Regions from separate parts of the Homo sapiens genome. Here all the other regions are linked to region 1. The links are contacts of gene promoters, found by promoter capture Hi-C in human tissues and cell types (Jung and others, 2019). All regions are on one chromosome and are shown on one strand. The core of a region is centred on a gene start or on the middle of the fragment in contact, and the rest is flanking DNA. Distances in the headings are between cores, read along the strand shown. Region 1 holds the start of ERLIN2 (ER lipid raft associated 2). Region 2 overlaps KCNU1 (potassium calcium-activated channel subfamily U member 1). Region 3 has its middle 310 kb from the start of KCNU1. Region 4 overlaps LOC105379377 (a long non-coding RNA gene).

Region 1 (4,208 bases), core at 1,107-3,606:
TTCCTTTATTGTAGGAACCACTATCCTAAGGCTTGCTTTGATTGACGTAAGTCAACCTGCAGGCTCTTTCATTTTTCTTGAAATGTTAATATTATTTTATTTTTAGAGACAGGGTCTTGCTCTGTCACCCAGGCTGGAGTGCAGTGGTGTGATCATAGCTCACTGCAGCCTCAAACTTCTGGGCTCAAGTGATCCTCCCACCTCAGCCCCCCAAATAACTGGGATTACAGGCACGTGCTGCCATGCTCGGCTAATTTTTTACTTTTTGTAGAGATGGGCTCTCACTATGTTGCTCAGGCTGGTCTCAATCTCCTGGGCTCAGGTGATCCTCCCATCTAAGCCTCCTGAGTAGCTAGGACTACGTGTGTGTGACACCACAGCCGGCCAATTAAAATTTTATTTTTTATTTTATTTTTTTAGAGATAGGGTCTCACTATGTGACCCAGGCTGGCTGAAATGTTAATTTTAAAAGAGCATCCCAAATTAGCAGAGTAGGCTACCTTCTCAAGTTGCCATCAAGAACTGGTACTCAGCTGGCTTTTGTAAAGGTAACCTAGCAGTGTAGAGCTAAGACTGCCAGAGGGATGTAGAGCTAAGACTGCCAGAGGGATGTAGAGCTAAGACTGCCAGAGGAATGTAGGAGAAAACAGTATTTTAGGGATGATCAATGAGGAGCACCAGTTTCCTTTAGATTTTGTCTCTAAATCTATATACACATTTATTAATCACCACCCATGGCATCATCTTGGACTACTAAGTGAAGTTCTAAATTTACATATATATGTGTGTGTGTGTATTCTCTTTCCCGTGGTTACTGACATAAAAAGCTCCATCTGAAAAGGCTCCCCTATTCAAGGAAATATAAATAGAGATGTTCAGCAGAATCTGCTAGGAAAGCAATGACCAGGAAAGGGAGCTATTTAACAGGAAGTTGCCGGCTTCTCCCTGTCTCTGCCTTACCTGTAATATACCCCAATATGTCCCTCTTCTATCTTGTGCACAGCTGAGAAGAGAGATGCACAAAAGAAACTGGAAGCCACAGCCACAACTGCTCCCAACTGAGCCATCAGTGAGCCTTTATCCTAGGGAAAAGACACGGGAAAATGTGTGTGGTCCAACGTGCAGGAGAAAAGGCCACAACAGCGAGAGGACCTCACCAAGCTGAGCTCCCTGCGAGTGACTCATATCCAGCCTGGTGTCGTGTGAACACAAGGCTAGATCTACAACTCGCTTCCTCCTCGTTCTCAGTCAACGTTCCCCTTTCTTTAACTGTAAAATTAGAGCCCCCACCGCACTGAGGAAGCACTGGCTCCGGATACAGCCGTTGCTCAAGGGAGAACCCGTGCCAGCTGGGTAGGGTTCAGAACACAGCCTTGTCTTCCTGTGAACACGAATGTGCTGTCACTGAACCTTTCCTACCAGTAGTAGGGAAGAGAGGCAGCTGCAGTACTTTGGCCCAAATTACAGAGGATGCCAAATGACAGGCAGTTGTGGCTATGTAATTCTGGTCAGAGTCTCCCACTCCTAATTGCCTGCAGTTTCAAAGGAAACCATTATTTACTCCTTTCAGATGCTGGAGTGGCAGAGCCAGCAGGCGAGCAGAGTTTCAAGGTAGGATTCGTTGGCCTCGCATCCACCTTCCCAGTTATTCCTTTGGCCCTAAACAGGACAGGGCTCTGAACAAGCCTGAAGCCACACTCCCCCCCATATACTTTGGCACTTTGCACCTGACAGATCCCCAAGCCCGTGGTCAGAGAGAAAGGCAATGTCCCAAACTGCGAGCCTCTAGGCTCCTAGGTCCAACCGCGTTCAGGCACCAGGACGCGGAGGAGTGGGATCCTGAACGCTGAATGATCTGGAACTATGGTGACTGACTGCAAAGTTCAGCTGTGCGTGCGTGGGCCCGTGAGCGCAGGGCGTGGATTCTGCCTCCCAGGTCTAACGTAACCGGGGCGCGGACATCTGCGAGGCGCTTATTTTACCGTGGCGGCCTCCGGCTACCGATCTGCAGTTGCGTCCTTTCCTGCCAGTGCCCTTCCCTCCCCGAGGTCACTCGCGCCCCTTCCCCGCCCCGTTCCGAGAGAGGGTCAAGCGCCCTGGTCTGGGGCTGCGGCTCCAATAGCCTCCGCTCGGTCCCCCTGCGGCTCGCAAGGAGAGGACGCGACAGAAAAGGGTTTCTGTCTCTCTCCAGGAGCGGGCCGGCTGAGGGAGAGAAGCTGCTGGGACTGAGGTTCCCGAAAGTGACGGGTCAGCCCCGACCCTGAGCGGCAGCTAGGCCCAGCGCGCGCACGAAGGGGCGGGGGCCGCGTACCAGGCTGTCCCTGCAGGCGCTCCGTACTCGTCCGAGCCCACGAGCAAGAAAACCGTCACACCCCTCAGCACGCGACTTCCTTCCGGGCCGTCGCTTCGATGACGCCATCAATTCACGCGAGAAGACCACACCCCCGCCCCGCGCTCGCTCTGCGCCCCGCCCCTCGCGCTCCCAGCGGTCAATGGCCGTAGCTGGCCGCCAGGGATCGCCCGCGACTTGGTCGGTGCGGTCCTGGACCTCGGTCTTGGGTATCCGTCCTGGGGCTGGGGATGAGGGCGGTGTTGGTGGGAGCTCCCCGAGAGCGAGCGGCAGGACGCGCATGCCCCGGAGTACTGAGACCCAGGGCGAACCTTTCCAAGGCGTTGACTTTGGGGATTGCTCCGGATTTCCTTCTGCATTAGGCCGAACCTGGTTCGTTTTGGTTTTTTTAGAGACAAGGTCTCGCTCTTTTGCCCAGGCTGGAGTGCAGTGGCACGATCATAGCTCACTACAGCCTCGAACTCCTGGGCTTAAGCGATCCTCCCACCTCACCCTGCTGAGTAGCTGGGACCACAGGCGCACGCCACGACACTTGACAATTTTATTTTTAGTAAAGACAGGGTCTTGGTATTTCTGGTCTCAAACTCTGGCTTCAAGCAATCCTCCTGCCTCGGCCTCCCAAACTGCTGGGATTACAGGCATGAGCCACCATGCGCGGCCTTTTTTTTTTTCTCTCCTTGATAAGGTACTGGCGAGTTGCAACTGTTTGCTTTCCTATAGCACAGCTGAAATGAAACAGTCTTTTCAATGTACAGATTAGCATCATTACCTCACCAATCAAAAATCCCTACCTTGAGTTGTTCTTTATATTTTTCTGGGAGCTTTGGCCCTTGGGATCCTGCAACGCCACAAAGTATATTAACAAGGAATTATTATTCTAATTTTAATGAACGGAATCTAAGAAGTTCAGCGAGGTTCAAGGGTAAAAGCCAAGGAAAGTTTCCTTTGTGTTTCCTTAATATCTTGAGTTCACTGCTTTTTAAACTCCTGCCACAGTGCACAGGGGCTAGTGCACTTCGTCTTTCTAGATAAACTGTACGTTCCCGGGAGAGCAGAGACTGACTTTCCTTCCGCACCCCCGGGGCTTAGGTGCCCAGTAAAAACAGACTGAAGGCAACGTGGGACCAGGCCCGGAATCCAGAGTTTGTGTCTCCTAGTCTAAGGGCCTCACGTTGTCCTCCACCTGCCCTATTCACCAGCATCACATTGGGGCATTTCTAATTCAGCCACTGAGGTTATTAATATTTTGTTTGCAGGAGAGAAAGAGTCCACTTAATTATAGCCTTCAGTAAAAGAAAAACTTTTACACCGGGAAGATGGCAAGCTGGTGGTGTTAGACAGATTTAAGACTCAGGAAAAGGGAAGTGTGGTTTTTTCCAGGCATGCCTGCTTGGGATTGGCCCGTTTACCTTTCCTGCGTTTGCTCTGGGTGTTGGGATGTTTCAGCATTACATGGTGAAACCCATACGAGGGTTACATGGTGCTGTCTGGGAGCTCTGTGCCCATCTCCATAAATGAAGGCCTTTCATCTCCCTACTCTGTCCCTGCATCCCCCACCCCAAACAGACACAGCTGGCCAATCTCTCGATCAATCCTATCAGAACTTGAGTTTTTTCTCTCCCTGTTCAGTGATATAACCTCAGCTGGGCATGCTTATTTAATAGTTTATTTAATAATTGAGTAAGAAAAATGGAAATATTAGGGTTCATCAACCCATGAAATGGGGGCTAGCCTGCAGCATCAAGTATTTAAATTACTTGTAATTTAAGAATTTCCTTTAACCAACCTCTGGCAACCCGTCTCCCCTCCCCTTCCCACAAATATGTATATTATTATGTGTCAATTAAAAATAATAAAA
Region 2 (4,003 bases), core at 581-3,080, 840 kb after region 1:
CTTACAAAACTTTATGGAACTAACAATGGCAAAGTTCATGAGAGCTAATAAAATTCACCATTGACACTTCTGGTTCAATAACTCATGATAAATTAATATATTATTCACAAAATACTTTCTGATGGATAACACAATAAGGACTATAGTCTTTATGCATTTTACATTTTACGAACTTTGTAAATTTGTCTAACTAGGACTGTTTCTGGTCTACATGTATTTTTGTATCATCTGTAATACATCTTAGCAGATTCCGCTTCAGATTATACTGAATTAATATTTTCTCAACTTCTTTGAATATATTTTCACAGGTAGTTGTGCCATGCAGACTATTCACAGAGGCCATTTAGGTACTTCAGACTCTGCCTTGACTCCTTGAATAAATAATAACTAAGCTGTATCAGTAACATATGTTAACATATTAAAAGCTGAGAGAAACCACTCACAACTATTTTCCTCATTTTTAAGTGATATTGATATTGCTTCTGATGTCTTCAATTCTTCCAGCAGTGATTTTTGCTGAAAGGTTAATAGTACTAGGTAGTTTTATTTTGTCTGGATACATTTTTTCATCTGCTGCAATCAAACACAATTTAATTGATTCACCATTAGTAAATGACTTCTCTTGCTTGGCTAACAAGTGAGTCACTCAGAAACAAACTTTGATTACAAATTCTGCTGTGCTAAGATGTTCTTTTAAAATTTTATAATTTTTCTAACCATGGCTTTACCATGAATTGAGAATATTGTGATAAGTGCCAAGTTTGATAATATCAACATATATTGTAGTCTTTTACCACAGTATACTTTCATTGAAATTAAGCACAATGCTTTTGTATGGCAAACCATATAAAAACAGGTAGTGAAGTGGATTTTGACTTCTAATCTAGAAAGCAGCCTGACATCATTTTAAAATAGCATTTGCATAGACCAAAGATATCACAAATACTCAGTGGCATTTGTTAATCGAAAATTTTTTCATGAATTATCTATATTTCTAACATTTTTGGATTTTTGGCTTGCAGATTAAAAGTGTCAAGTTAGAGATGAAGGAAGGCGTTGCTGCAAAGAGATGGTCTTAAACCAGGTTAAGGGACCATTACAAGTTTAATAGGAAGATGAAAAATAACTATAAAAAGTAACTACAAGGGACATTCTTCCAGAATGGCAGAGTTAGGGCCTTTGAATATTCACTATTCTACACAAGCAATGAGAATATTGACAAAAAAATTATCAAAATCAACATCTTCAGAGTTCTGGAAATAAACTGGAGACTTGAAACAATATGAGGAGTATTTGTTTAAGAAAAATGGTGAGATCTTGGTAAGAACAATAAGCTTCATGGCATTTTTGAGAAGTGCTATTCCCATTCCACTATCTTTAGTTCAACAGTAGCCATCAAGATCAGAAGCCTTACAATAACAGTAGCTCTGAAAACCAGCAGTCTAGCAGCCACCAGAGAGAAAAAATAGATCTGAAGCTGTTAAATATCCTTATTCACAGAATATGTTACTATTTGAGCTTTCTAGCAGCTCCCTGGAAGTGCACACTCACAGGGCTTATCTTTATTTGGCCTGGGAGTTTTCTCAGTGGAATTTTTCCGGAGGCATTTTAAAAAAATAATCAGCAGTAATTTTTTTAAATTGCAAATATCTGAGTTATAGTTAACAATGTCGCAAAAAAAAAAAAGACCCATAAAAATCTTCAAAAGAAAAAGCTGGAGAATTAGAAGTCTATAGAGAGGGCCAGATGTGGTGGCTCATGCCTGTAATCCCAGCACTTTGGGAGGCTGAAGCAGGTGGATCACCAGAGGCCAGGAGTTCAAGACTAACCTGGGCAACATGGCGAAACCTCATCTTTACAAAAAAAAAACAAAAAAAAACAAAAAGTAGCTAGGCATGGTGGCTCACACCTGTAATAACAGCTACTTGAGAGGCTGAGTCAGGAGAATTGCTTGATCCCAGGAGGCAGATGTTGCAGTGAGCTGAGATCATGCCACTGCATGCTGTCCTGGGTGACAAAGCAAGACTCTGTCTCAAATAAAACAAAAGAAAATAACAGACTTCTATAGAGGGTATTAAAAGGTTTTGAAACATTCACTGTAGGAAACTGAATAAAAATAAAACCATGTGCATGTGCAGAGTTGTAAATACACCCAGGGGAAAAAAAACCTGAGGTATTCCTAATCTCTTCTGGCTGATCTTGAGACTGCACAAACCAAAAATGAAGGCTTAGGCAAAGATGTAAACTGCTAAAGTGTCAAAGGAATTACCTCAACATGCACACAGAATCCCTTGGCAAATATAAGAAGACTTATCAGTTCAAGGCATTTAAGGAAATCTCAGTGCAATCATTAGCTGATCATAAAGCTGAGTAGAGATTTAAGTGTCAATATACAATAAACCATAGCAAAATAGTTTGTAGAGTTGTCATATAATATTATTTAAAATGCCTGGCTTTCAACAAAAAATTATGAGACACAAAGACACAGTAAGTATGGACCATACCTGGTGGGGGGTGGGGGGTGGGAACACCAATAGAAACTGTCCGGAAGGAAGCCCAGACTTTCTAGGCAAAGATTTTATAAGAGCCATTATAAATATATTTAAAGGACTAACTGAAACCATTTTTAAAGAACTAAAGAAAAGTATGAGAACAATATAGCACTGAATACAAAATATCAGTGAGGAGATAGATTATAAGAAAAAAACAAATGGAAATTCTGGAGTTAAGAAGTACAATAACTGAAAAGAAAATTTTAGTGAAGGAGCTCAGCAGCAGATCTGAGTTGGCAGAAGAAGGAATAAATGAGCTTGAATATAAGTCAATGGAGATAATGCAGTCAGAAAAATAGAAATAAAAACCTATTGAAGAAATATACACAGAAGCTTCAGAAAACTGTGGGACATCATCAAGTGTATCAACATACACAAAATGGGAGTTTCAGAAATGGGGGAGAGAGAGAAAGAAGAAAGAGTACTTAGATAATGGACACAAATTTTACATATTTAATGAAAACATTAACTTACATATCTAAGCAGCTAAAGGAAGTTTAAAGTAGAGTAATCTCAAAGAGATTCAGACCTGGATATACCATAATCAAATTGTTCAGAGCCAAGGGCAAAGAGGAATCTTGAAAGCAGCAAGTAAAAAGCAACTCAGCATCTACAAGGGATCCTTAATAAGATTAACAGCTAATTTCTCATCAGAAACCATGAAAGCCAGAAGGCAGTGGAAGAACATATATAAAGTTCTCAAAAAAAAGGCTTATCAGTTAAGAATTCTATATCCAACAAAGTATTATTCAAAAATGATGAAGAAATGGAGACATTTTCAGATGAAGAAAAATGGCCAGAATTGTTGTTTGCAAACTTTTATTACAAACGATACTAAAGAGTATTACAATTCCTTTAGGCTGAAATGAAAGGATGACAAACATTAACTTGCATCCACATTAAGAAACAGAGTGTCAGTAAAATTAATTACATAGGTAAATAGGAAAGATAGTATTATCTCTCTATGCATCAGTCCATCCATCCATCCATTCTTCCAAGCATCCATCCATCCATCCTTTTGTATTATCTTGTCTGACTTAAAATACAAGTTTGCAAAGCAGTTATAGGATTGTGTTGATGAACCTATAATATTATAAAGATGTAATTTGTATGATAATCATAGCATAAAGTTGGGCAAAGAAATGGAGCTACATAGAAGTAAAATAGTTATGTACTAGTGAAAATAAGACAGTATTAATATGAACTATATTGCTATAAGGTGTTAATTGTAATCTCCAAGGCAACCACTAATAAAATAAAAATACTCTAAAAGAAATCACAAGAGAATTAAAATGGTACAATAGAAAATATCTATTTAACAATAAAATAAGGCAGTAATGGTGGAATAGATTAAAAACAGACAAGAGACATATATAAAAAATACCAAATAGCAGACTTAAATGCTTCATTATTCATAATCAATTTAGGTATAAATAGATTACACTAATAAA
Region 3 (4,339 bases), core at 1,124-3,623, 640 kb after region 1:
GACAGGGCTGCTTCTTGCACTTATTTATTTTTTTAGCAGAGTTCCTAATATTGAAAGGAATGCCAGTTTGGGGAGGATGCACACAAGACCCTTGTTTTCCCCTCCCTGGCAATGCTGGAATCCTCAAGTCTGTCTGTATTGCCACAATTTTGTGATCATGGGCTCATGGGGCTAGACTGGAAAAATGCAGCCTGAACTGATGGGGCTGATGGGGTGGGAGGTGGTGAGAGAGGCAGGAAGGAGGAGAAAGAGAGGGCCAGGCTCCACTCAGCCAATCTGAAGATCAGATCTTAAACTGTCATGGGAAACAATACTAAGGAGAGCCCTGCCTGGTCCTCTGTGATGCCTGCAATATTTGGGATGCACTGGGTCAGGGCCTAGGAGCTGGAAAACCGGGCTGTTCATTTACTTCCCTCCAAAAATAGAGTTCTGTTTGACTAAAGACTCCTATAAGAGTTACATGGCCAGGGCTTTGATGCCGCTCCTGTTAACATTTGTAAGTGCTTCCTGCCTAGGCTTTATAATCATAAAACAATCATAATGTCTGATGACTGTCTAATGTTTTTTGGTTACAAAGATCTGTGCAAATCCTAGGTCTCTCCCGGCAGAGTCTTGATTGTTTTTCATGACACACCTTCCTAGGGTACAGCAGAATACTAGAGCTTAGCCTATTCAAAACTCCCCAAATCTCAGATAGGGAAAGGTAGGCCAGAAAGGTTCAATGATTCATGGTATATCATTAAATTGATGATAAGGAAAAAAAATGCCTATGGAATTCCCTACCCTGGGTGCCTCAAAGGGCATTGCTTGTCTTTAAATTCCACGGCTTCGATATTGGTGGTTCGGAGATGTGGGATGACTTAGTCTTGTGTCTAACGCTACTCAAATGCACAGGTATGATGTAAGGTTGAACATTTTTTTAGAACAAAGACTTAGTTAGCATTATCTATCTAATAGCTGCCAGGAAAGAAGGATGGTAACCTGGTCTATGCTTCAAGAAAACTAAGGAAGACTTACAATATAACTAATCTCTGTGGAAGTGCTTTCCTTGCTACTTACCAGCTGTGGACCCTGAGTTAGTTACCCGATTGCTCTGTGTGTCTGTTTTCTCATCTGTAAAAGGGGAATGACAGTCATTCTACCTTGTAAGTTGATGTGAGGATCAAATGAGTTTTGTGACCAATGCTTGCTATGTAGTCTATCAAAATGTTGTTACCATTCTTCTGTAGTTGACAACCTTGTGCTTCGTTCATCATGACCATGACCTCCCTATTGGCTCCATGGGTTGAAAATGTTTAGAGCAAAGCTGTAGAGCACGCTGTGGCTCTTACTCTATGGCTAAGAGCTGATAGGAGGAGGTCTCTACGAAACTGGTGAGAAGGCTAGGGGTGCTGGCCCAGGCTACCCAGGCCACCTTGCCTCCACACTCTGGCTGGTGCTATAGGGTTACGTCCCAGGATGTCATCCTCTTTTCCAGAGTAGCCTCAGCGGAGCACCCTGCTTCTTCCCCTCTACAGGCCATCTCAATAAAGATTGGGTGTTCAGCTTTCAAACAATATTCTGCTTCTGTGTAGTACTTTCACCTTTTTCAAGCACCTTCTCATACATTATCTTTTTGTTTCATGTGCATTTTGATGAATGTAGGACAGTCATTCTTCTCTTTCACTTTCCTGTGAGCCAGATTTAATGAGGGAGTTTCTGGATTATCTTGGTTAGTTGGAGGCATCTGCCTAACTTATCTATGACTTATTTTTCCTGCTACCAGATTGTTCCAAATGATTGTGCTGGCTGTGAGTTTAGAAGATCTGGCCTTTTGCAGAAGTTCTGCTGTTGTCTTTTCAGCTTCTGGGTAAGGGCAAGGCCATTGGGGTTGCTCTCTCCTAATGAGAAGTGAGTGTGAACACCAATGGATTCTGGAGAGATGAAGCTTCTCTTTGGGGCTCACAGTCCCAGACAATCCATACCTGTTCCTTCTTCAATTTGCTCAATATAGCATTGAGCATTTCAACAGCTTCTGTGCCTGTACTATAAACGTGTGTAAATACTGACAGACATACACGTGCCTGCACAAACCTGTATCCATAGTCACAGATTCTATCACACACTCACAGACACATGTACTCACAGATGTAAATACACAGTGTTATGACACAGTTGCATACTGTCACACCCATAGAGTCACACACAGAGGCACACAGGCCGAGGCACGCATACATCCACACGCAGTCACATATACAAACACAAAGGCACAATGATTCTCTCTCTCTCCTTTCTCTCTCTCTCTGTTTTACATGCACTCTCTCTCTCTCTCTCTCTCTCTTAGAAAAAGTACCAACCCAGAAAAGAAATGCAGCAGAGACGTTTGTAGCATTGCATACCCAGCTGGGTCTTGGGAAAGAGTCTCCTCCCCAGCGCATCATGGAGGGATGAGCTTTTGAGAGCAGGTGCTGGGTACCATCCCAAATCTTTTGCCGAGATTCCTAGTGCCACAGCTAATCTACACTCTGGATGTTTGCTGACTACCCTGATCCTCAGGAGGCAGGTGTTCAACCCAGGGGCCAAAGTTGAAATTGTCGGGAGACGTAGTGTTAAGAGTTGAATTGTTTCCTCCCTCCTGCCAAAGATATGTTAAAATTCTAATCCTCAGTACCTCAGAGGTTACTTTATTTGGAAATAGGCTCATTGCAGGTGGAATTACAGGCATACCTCAGAGATATTGTGGCTTCAGTTCCAGACCACCATAATAAAGCAAATGTTGCAATAAATTGAGTCACACAAATTGTTTAGGGTGGTGGTTGCTGAAGGTTGGGGTGGCTGTGACAATTTCTTACAATTTTTAAGTTTCTTAAAATAAGACAACAATGAAGCTTGCCACACCAATTGACTCTCATTTTCTGGAAAGATTTCTCTGTAGTATGTCATGCTGTTTGATAGCATTTAACCCACAGTATAACTTCCTTATAAATTGGAGTCAATTTTCTCAAACGCTGCTGCTGTTTTATCAACTAAGTGTATATAATATTCTGAATTGTTTGTCTTTTCAATAATGTTCGTAGCATCTTCACCAGGAGTAGATCTCATCTCAAGAAACCGCTTTCTTTGCTCATCCATAAATTAATCATCTGTTCAAGTTTTATCATGAGATTGCAACAATTCCATCATGTCTCACTGAGTTAGGCTCCACTTCTAGTTCTCTTGCTGTTTCCACCACATCGGTAGTGACTTCTTCCGTTGAAGCCTTGAACCTCTCAATGTCATCCATGAGGACTGGAATCAACTTCTTCCAGACTCCTGTTAATGAGAATATTTTGACCTCCTCCCATTAATCATGAATGTTCTTTTTTTTTTAATCAAAAACATTTTTTCATTTAAAAAACTATTTACAACACATAAAACAAGGCAAGATTTACTCTTTTTTTCTCATCTTCTGGTATGGGATCTTTTGGTGGCTCCTGCACTATTGTGCTGTTGCTGTCCGATCCAATGTTACTATCACTGGTTCCTTCCTCTGCCATACTGTCTACCCACTCCTGCCCACTCTCCTTGTCCTCAGGAGTAGACGTGCCTTCTTCACTGTTCTGTTGGCTCTCTGTCATTTCTTCAAAGCGTGCCTCCTCCATCTCCATTGGAATGTTCTTGTCATCTTTCTTCTCCTCGCCTTTGCTGGCTGCTTGCTTTTCCTTAGGAACAATGCTGCTCTGTGCTCAGCTTGCTCTGCTGCCTCCTTCTCCCTTTTCTCCTGCCTTTTGCGGGCCTGTTCCTCTGCCTGTGCAATCTCACCTGCAATTTTCTTCATATCCACTTCTACTTTCAGACCACACAAACTTTTAAGTTCATCATTAAATGAATCTGTGCTTTCCAAGTATTTCCTCCTCTTCTCCTGGTGTCATTTCCTCTATCTGAAGAAGTTCAGCTTCTAGTTTTCGCTGATGAATAATTAAGGACTGGACCTGTCATTTGATGATCCACATTCTAGCTGTTGTGACAACTGACCGAACGTCTGGCACCACACTCTCACTAAGGATTTCACTGATGAGGCAGTGGTTTCTCTGGAAATGGGCGGTGGCTGTATGCTTCATTGAAAAGCCATCGTCATAATCATCTGGATCTTCAGGAGGCTAAATGTTCATGTACGGTTCTCCTTTCTCCACGCAAGACTGTCTCTGTCAACTTTCTTCCTCTAAAGCAGCTTCTGCACGACTTTTTGCATTTATGTAAGCAAGGTATATGGGGGATTTATGATAGGCCTTCATAGATTCATTGTATTCTGTCTTTTCTGCTTCGTATTCATTTAAATATTCTTGCTTTTCTTCACCAGTGAGATCTCACCACATGCCAC
Region 4 (4,013 bases), core at 962-3,461, 670 kb after region 1:
GGGCTGGAGCTCCCCACAGTGGTCATCATGTAAACCCAACACTTCCTACATTCATTGATTTCTGCCTAATTTACATTCCTCTTTTGTTAGTTGCTCACAAGTCCCTCCTCCATCCTCTTCTTCCCAAGCCCTGGTCATTAAAATCAAAGTCTTAAATCTCAGATACCACTCTCCCTGCACCTAGGCCCTTATTTTCATCCGTATCCAGAGAGTCTTAACCTCTTGTCTTACGTTTGTCTAACTTGAACCTGTACGACCTATTCCTTGAGACTCTATATTTTAAAAACCTGCACAGATCTTATCAAAAAATTATTTGTACCTCTGCTTCTACCATTAGGTGACCATTGCCTTTTCTCTGAAGACACCATTTCTCTTGTAATCTTCTCAACGTATCTTTCTCTTATTCCTGTCCCTTAACTGAACGAAAGTGGGATCGGCTTTTCCGTTCTCTCCAGTACTTCTCTCGACCACTGTTTTGTGATTATTATCCAAGAGCTTTGCTGGTGTTGGACTCCATATAGCACTGTTTCTAACACTTTCTTGCTTTCCTGAGTGACCCCAGCATCTGGCTCACAGCCTTCCCTTTCCTTGCTAAAGTCCGAGCGACTCCGACATCAAAATTGATCATCTTCCCAACTGTGTACTCAGGCAGTGTTCAAGTTCCACTTCCCGAGGGAGTTCTGTCTTGCTTCCATGGAGCTGTCCACCTGGTTGTCTCATTTTTAAACAGCTTTATTAAGAAATCATCGACATACAAAAATGTATACATTTAAGATGTGCAACTTGATGTTTTAGTATACGTTATTAAATTATCACCACAATCAAGCTAATTAAACATATCCATTACCTCTGCATAGTTGCAATTGTTTATGTGCGTGTGTGTGTGTGTGTGTGTGTGTAGTGAGAAGATTTAAGATGTGTCCTCTCAGCAAATTACTAGTATACAATACAGTTTTGTTAATTAACATGACCATGCTGTACATAAGGTCTCTAGAAATTATTCATATTTCATAACTGAATCTTTGTATCTTTTGGCCAGTATCACCCTATTTCTTCCTTGACCAGGCCCTGGAAACCACTATCCTACTATCTGCTTCTATAAATTTGACTATTTTCAATTTCACATATAAATGAGATCATGCAGGATTTCTGTTTCTGTGTCTTGTTTGTTTCACCTAGCATAATGTCTTCCAGCTTCATCATGTTGTGGCTAACAGCAGGATTTCCTTCTTTTTTAATAGTATTCTGTTATACACACACATGCGCGCGCGCACACACACACCCACACACACACACCACATTTTCTTTATCCATTCATCTGTTGAAAAACATTTAGGCCATTTCCATAGCTTAGCTTTGTGAATAATCCTGTAATGAACATGATAGTGCAGAGAACTCTTCACAATCCTGATTTCGATTGCTTTAGATACCAAGAACTAGGATTGCTGGATCATGTTAGTTCTATTTTTAAGTTTTTGGAGAACCTTCATACCATTTTCCATAATGGTTTTACTAATTTACATTCTCATCAGCAGTGTATAAGGGTTCTCTTTTCTCCACAGGAAAACAGTCCCATTTACATTAGCAACAAAATAAATAAATAAATAAAATACTTAGAAATTAACTTAACCAAAGAAGTAAAGGACTTATATACTGAAGCTTACAAAGCATTCATGAAGGAAATTTAAAAAGATACAAATAAATGAGAAGATACAAATCCTATGTACCTGGATTGGAGGAATTAATATTGTAAAAATGTCCATACTACCCAAAATGATCTACATATTCAACACAATCTCTATCAAAATCCCAAAGGCACTTTTTAAGAAATAGAAAAAATATTCTTAAATTCCTATGGAATCAAAAGGACCCTGAATAACCAATCTTGAAAAAGAAGAACAAAGCTGAAGGCATCACACTTCCTGACTTCAAATTATATTACAAAGACATAATAAAAAGTACAGTACTTGCATAAAGACAGATGTATATACCATTGGAACAGAATAGACAACCCAGAAATAAACCCATGCATCCAAAGATGCCAAAAAATACATAATGGGGAGAGGATAGTCTCTTCAACAAATGTTGTTAAGAAAACTAGATACCAATATACAAAAGAATGAAACTGAACCCCTATCTCACACCATACACAAAAATCCTCATAGTCTTCACATTGAGTAGGCTGAGGAAGAGGATGAAGCGGAGGGGTTGGTCTTGTCATCTGGGGGCAGGGCAGAGGTAGAAAGAAATCTCTGTATAAGTGAACTTGCACAGTTCAAACTCATGTTGCTCAAGTGTCGGCTGTGTTTGGTTCTACCTTGCATTATAATAAGGTCTTATCTCATTACCAGACCATGTGCTCTAGAGGAAGAGTAGGCTGAAGCTGCTGCCGTTCATTGTATCTCCTGAAACATGTAGCACAAAGTCTTGTGCAAAACTGGAATACAAGACATACACTTTGTTAAATGGAATCATTGTTTTATTGCCATTTCTTATCTTTCCAATTGTACTTAAATTCAGGAAGTGTAAGGCATTCCTAACAAAGTGCCTTACATTTGACATTAATAAGGGTTTGTTGCTTGGTTTATTGGCTTATTGAGCAAGAGAGAGCTAGGTATAAGGATAGTGGAAGACACTCAGGTTCCTGTTTTGAAACTACCACTTACTTGTTGTGGGACCCCAGGCAAGTCACTGCACATATTTAAGCTTCAGTTTGATCATGTAGAAAAGGAGGGTTAAACTAAATGACTTCCACATGAGTTTCTGGTTCCAAGAAATTTTTCTAAGCCTTGCTGACTCCTTCAGGATTCAACCCAGGCTGAGTTGGAAGCAAAATAATTCAGAGGACCAAGTGTGCCAGGCTAGCATAAAGAAGTTAAGAGAGAAATATAAGTTTTGTTATGTTGAAATGCCGAATTATAAGAGATAGAGAATAAAAAAGAAAAAAGGAGAGAGAGAGATCCTGGATACTGGGGAAAGAAGGTGAGCTCAGACAGAAGGGTGAGAACTGAAGCACAAGAAAGCTGATAAAGCAGTGGTTCTCAATGTGGGACAAGATGGAGAAGAGCTGCCACTCCTAGGGGAGGTGGGATTTCACCCATCATTGTAATTGGCATTTAGTAGGTGGGGCCAAGGGGAGCAGACGTCTTGCAATACACTGGTCAGTTCCATACATCAAAAAGTTATCCCATTTCACATGTAATTTTCAAATGTTTCACTGGACATACAGTTGGGTGAAAGACCTATTTGGAATAATCTAAGCCTAAATCTATATTGTGTGTAAATTCAAAAACATTTTTGCACTGTCTGAATACTCCCTGAACCTTTCAGTAAAGCATCAATTCTGTAAATTGACAGAAAATAGGATGGCATTATATTGGTACAAAGCACACAGATGCTAAGGAATGGATATAAATAGATATCAAAGTGACTTGCTAGAGATCTCATCTCTAGGACGTGGTGACACTGGACTCTCTGCTCAATCACACATTCTTGCTGTGTCACTCAAGCTGGAAGGATGGCATCATATGGCACTTCTCCAAGAGTTGTTCATTATTTTAGAAAATATATCACTAACAGAGATGCGACTGTGTTATTTTAAATCACAATAAATATATCAGCATCAGTGTTCATTTGTGGCTGGTACATTCCTGGTGGCTGCACACAGAGGAGAAGGTATTTGGGTACTGCTGCCTCCCAGGGAAGTCATGCTTGAGTATCGACATATTGCAACCCTCTCCTTGAATTTCCCCATTATATGATTAAAAATAGAGTGCTACATGACTTTTAAAATTATGTGTTTAGGTAGATTACAACTTTGCGGGGTTTTTTGTTTTGTTTTTAGAGACAGGGTCTTGCTCTGTCACCCAGGCTGGAGTGCAGTGGCATGATTATAGCTCACTGCAGCCTTGACCTCCTGGCCTCAAGTGATCCTCCTCCCTCAGCCTCTCGAGTAGCTGGGACTACAGGCATATGCCACCATGCTTGGCTAATTAAAAAAATTTTTTTTTTGG

The links. The method cuts DNA at HindIII sites, captures the fragments that hold promoters and counts their contacts. A contact is called where the count stands out against the background at its distance.
Region 2: a fragment that was not itself captured here is called in contact with the fragment with the promoter of ERLIN2 in region 1 in 2 of the 25 tissues and cell types used here (IMR-90 fibroblasts and dorsolateral prefrontal cortex).
Region 3: a fragment that was not itself captured here is called in contact with the fragment with the promoter of ERLIN2 in region 1 in 1 of the 25 tissues and cell types used here (IMR-90 fibroblasts).
Region 4: a contact is called between a fragment that was not itself captured here and the fragment with the promoter of ERLIN2 in region 1, in 1 of the 25 tissues and cell types used here (IMR-90 fibroblasts).

The regions. Positions count from the first base shown.
Region 1 is chr8:37,734,782-37,738,989 of GRCh38, reverse strand. ERLIN2 (ER lipid raft associated 2) reads right to left here and starts at 2,356. Exons shown (of 12, transcript NM_007175.8): 1 at 2,312-2,356; 2 at 961-1,082. The coding sequence starts at 1,067. LOC102723701 (a long non-coding RNA gene) reads left to right here and starts at 1,564. Exons shown (of 2, transcript NR_125821.1): 1 at 1,564-1,611; 2 at 2,192-4,208. RefSeq lists enhancers at 1,002-1,794, 2,274-2,483. The HindIII fragment of the contact is 16,352 bases long and covers 1-4,208 here.
Region 2 is chr8:36,891,011-36,895,013 of GRCh38, reverse strand. The region is part of intron 19 of KCNU1 (potassium calcium-activated channel subfamily U member 1); the gene reads right to left. All of the region lies in intron 2 of LOC105379375 (a long non-coding RNA gene), which reads left to right. Among named protein-coding and RNA genes, the nearest start is that of KCNU1, 110 kb to the right of the region's middle. The HindIII fragment of the contact is 6,473 bases long and covers 1-4,003 here.
Region 3 is chr8:37,095,446-37,099,784 of GRCh38, reverse strand. It overlaps the pseudogene SMARCE1P4. Among named protein-coding and RNA genes, the nearest start is that of KCNU1, 310 kb to the right of the region's middle. RefSeq lists an enhancer at 1-318. The HindIII fragment of the contact is 3,893 bases long and covers 427-4,319 here.
Region 4 is chr8:37,062,932-37,066,944 of GRCh38, reverse strand. LOC105379377 (a long non-coding RNA gene) reads left to right here. Exons shown (of 7, transcript XR_949675.4): 7 at 1-1,146. Among named protein-coding and RNA genes, the nearest start is that of KCNU1, 280 kb to the right of the region's middle. The HindIII fragment of the contact is 4,005 bases long and covers 209-4,013 here.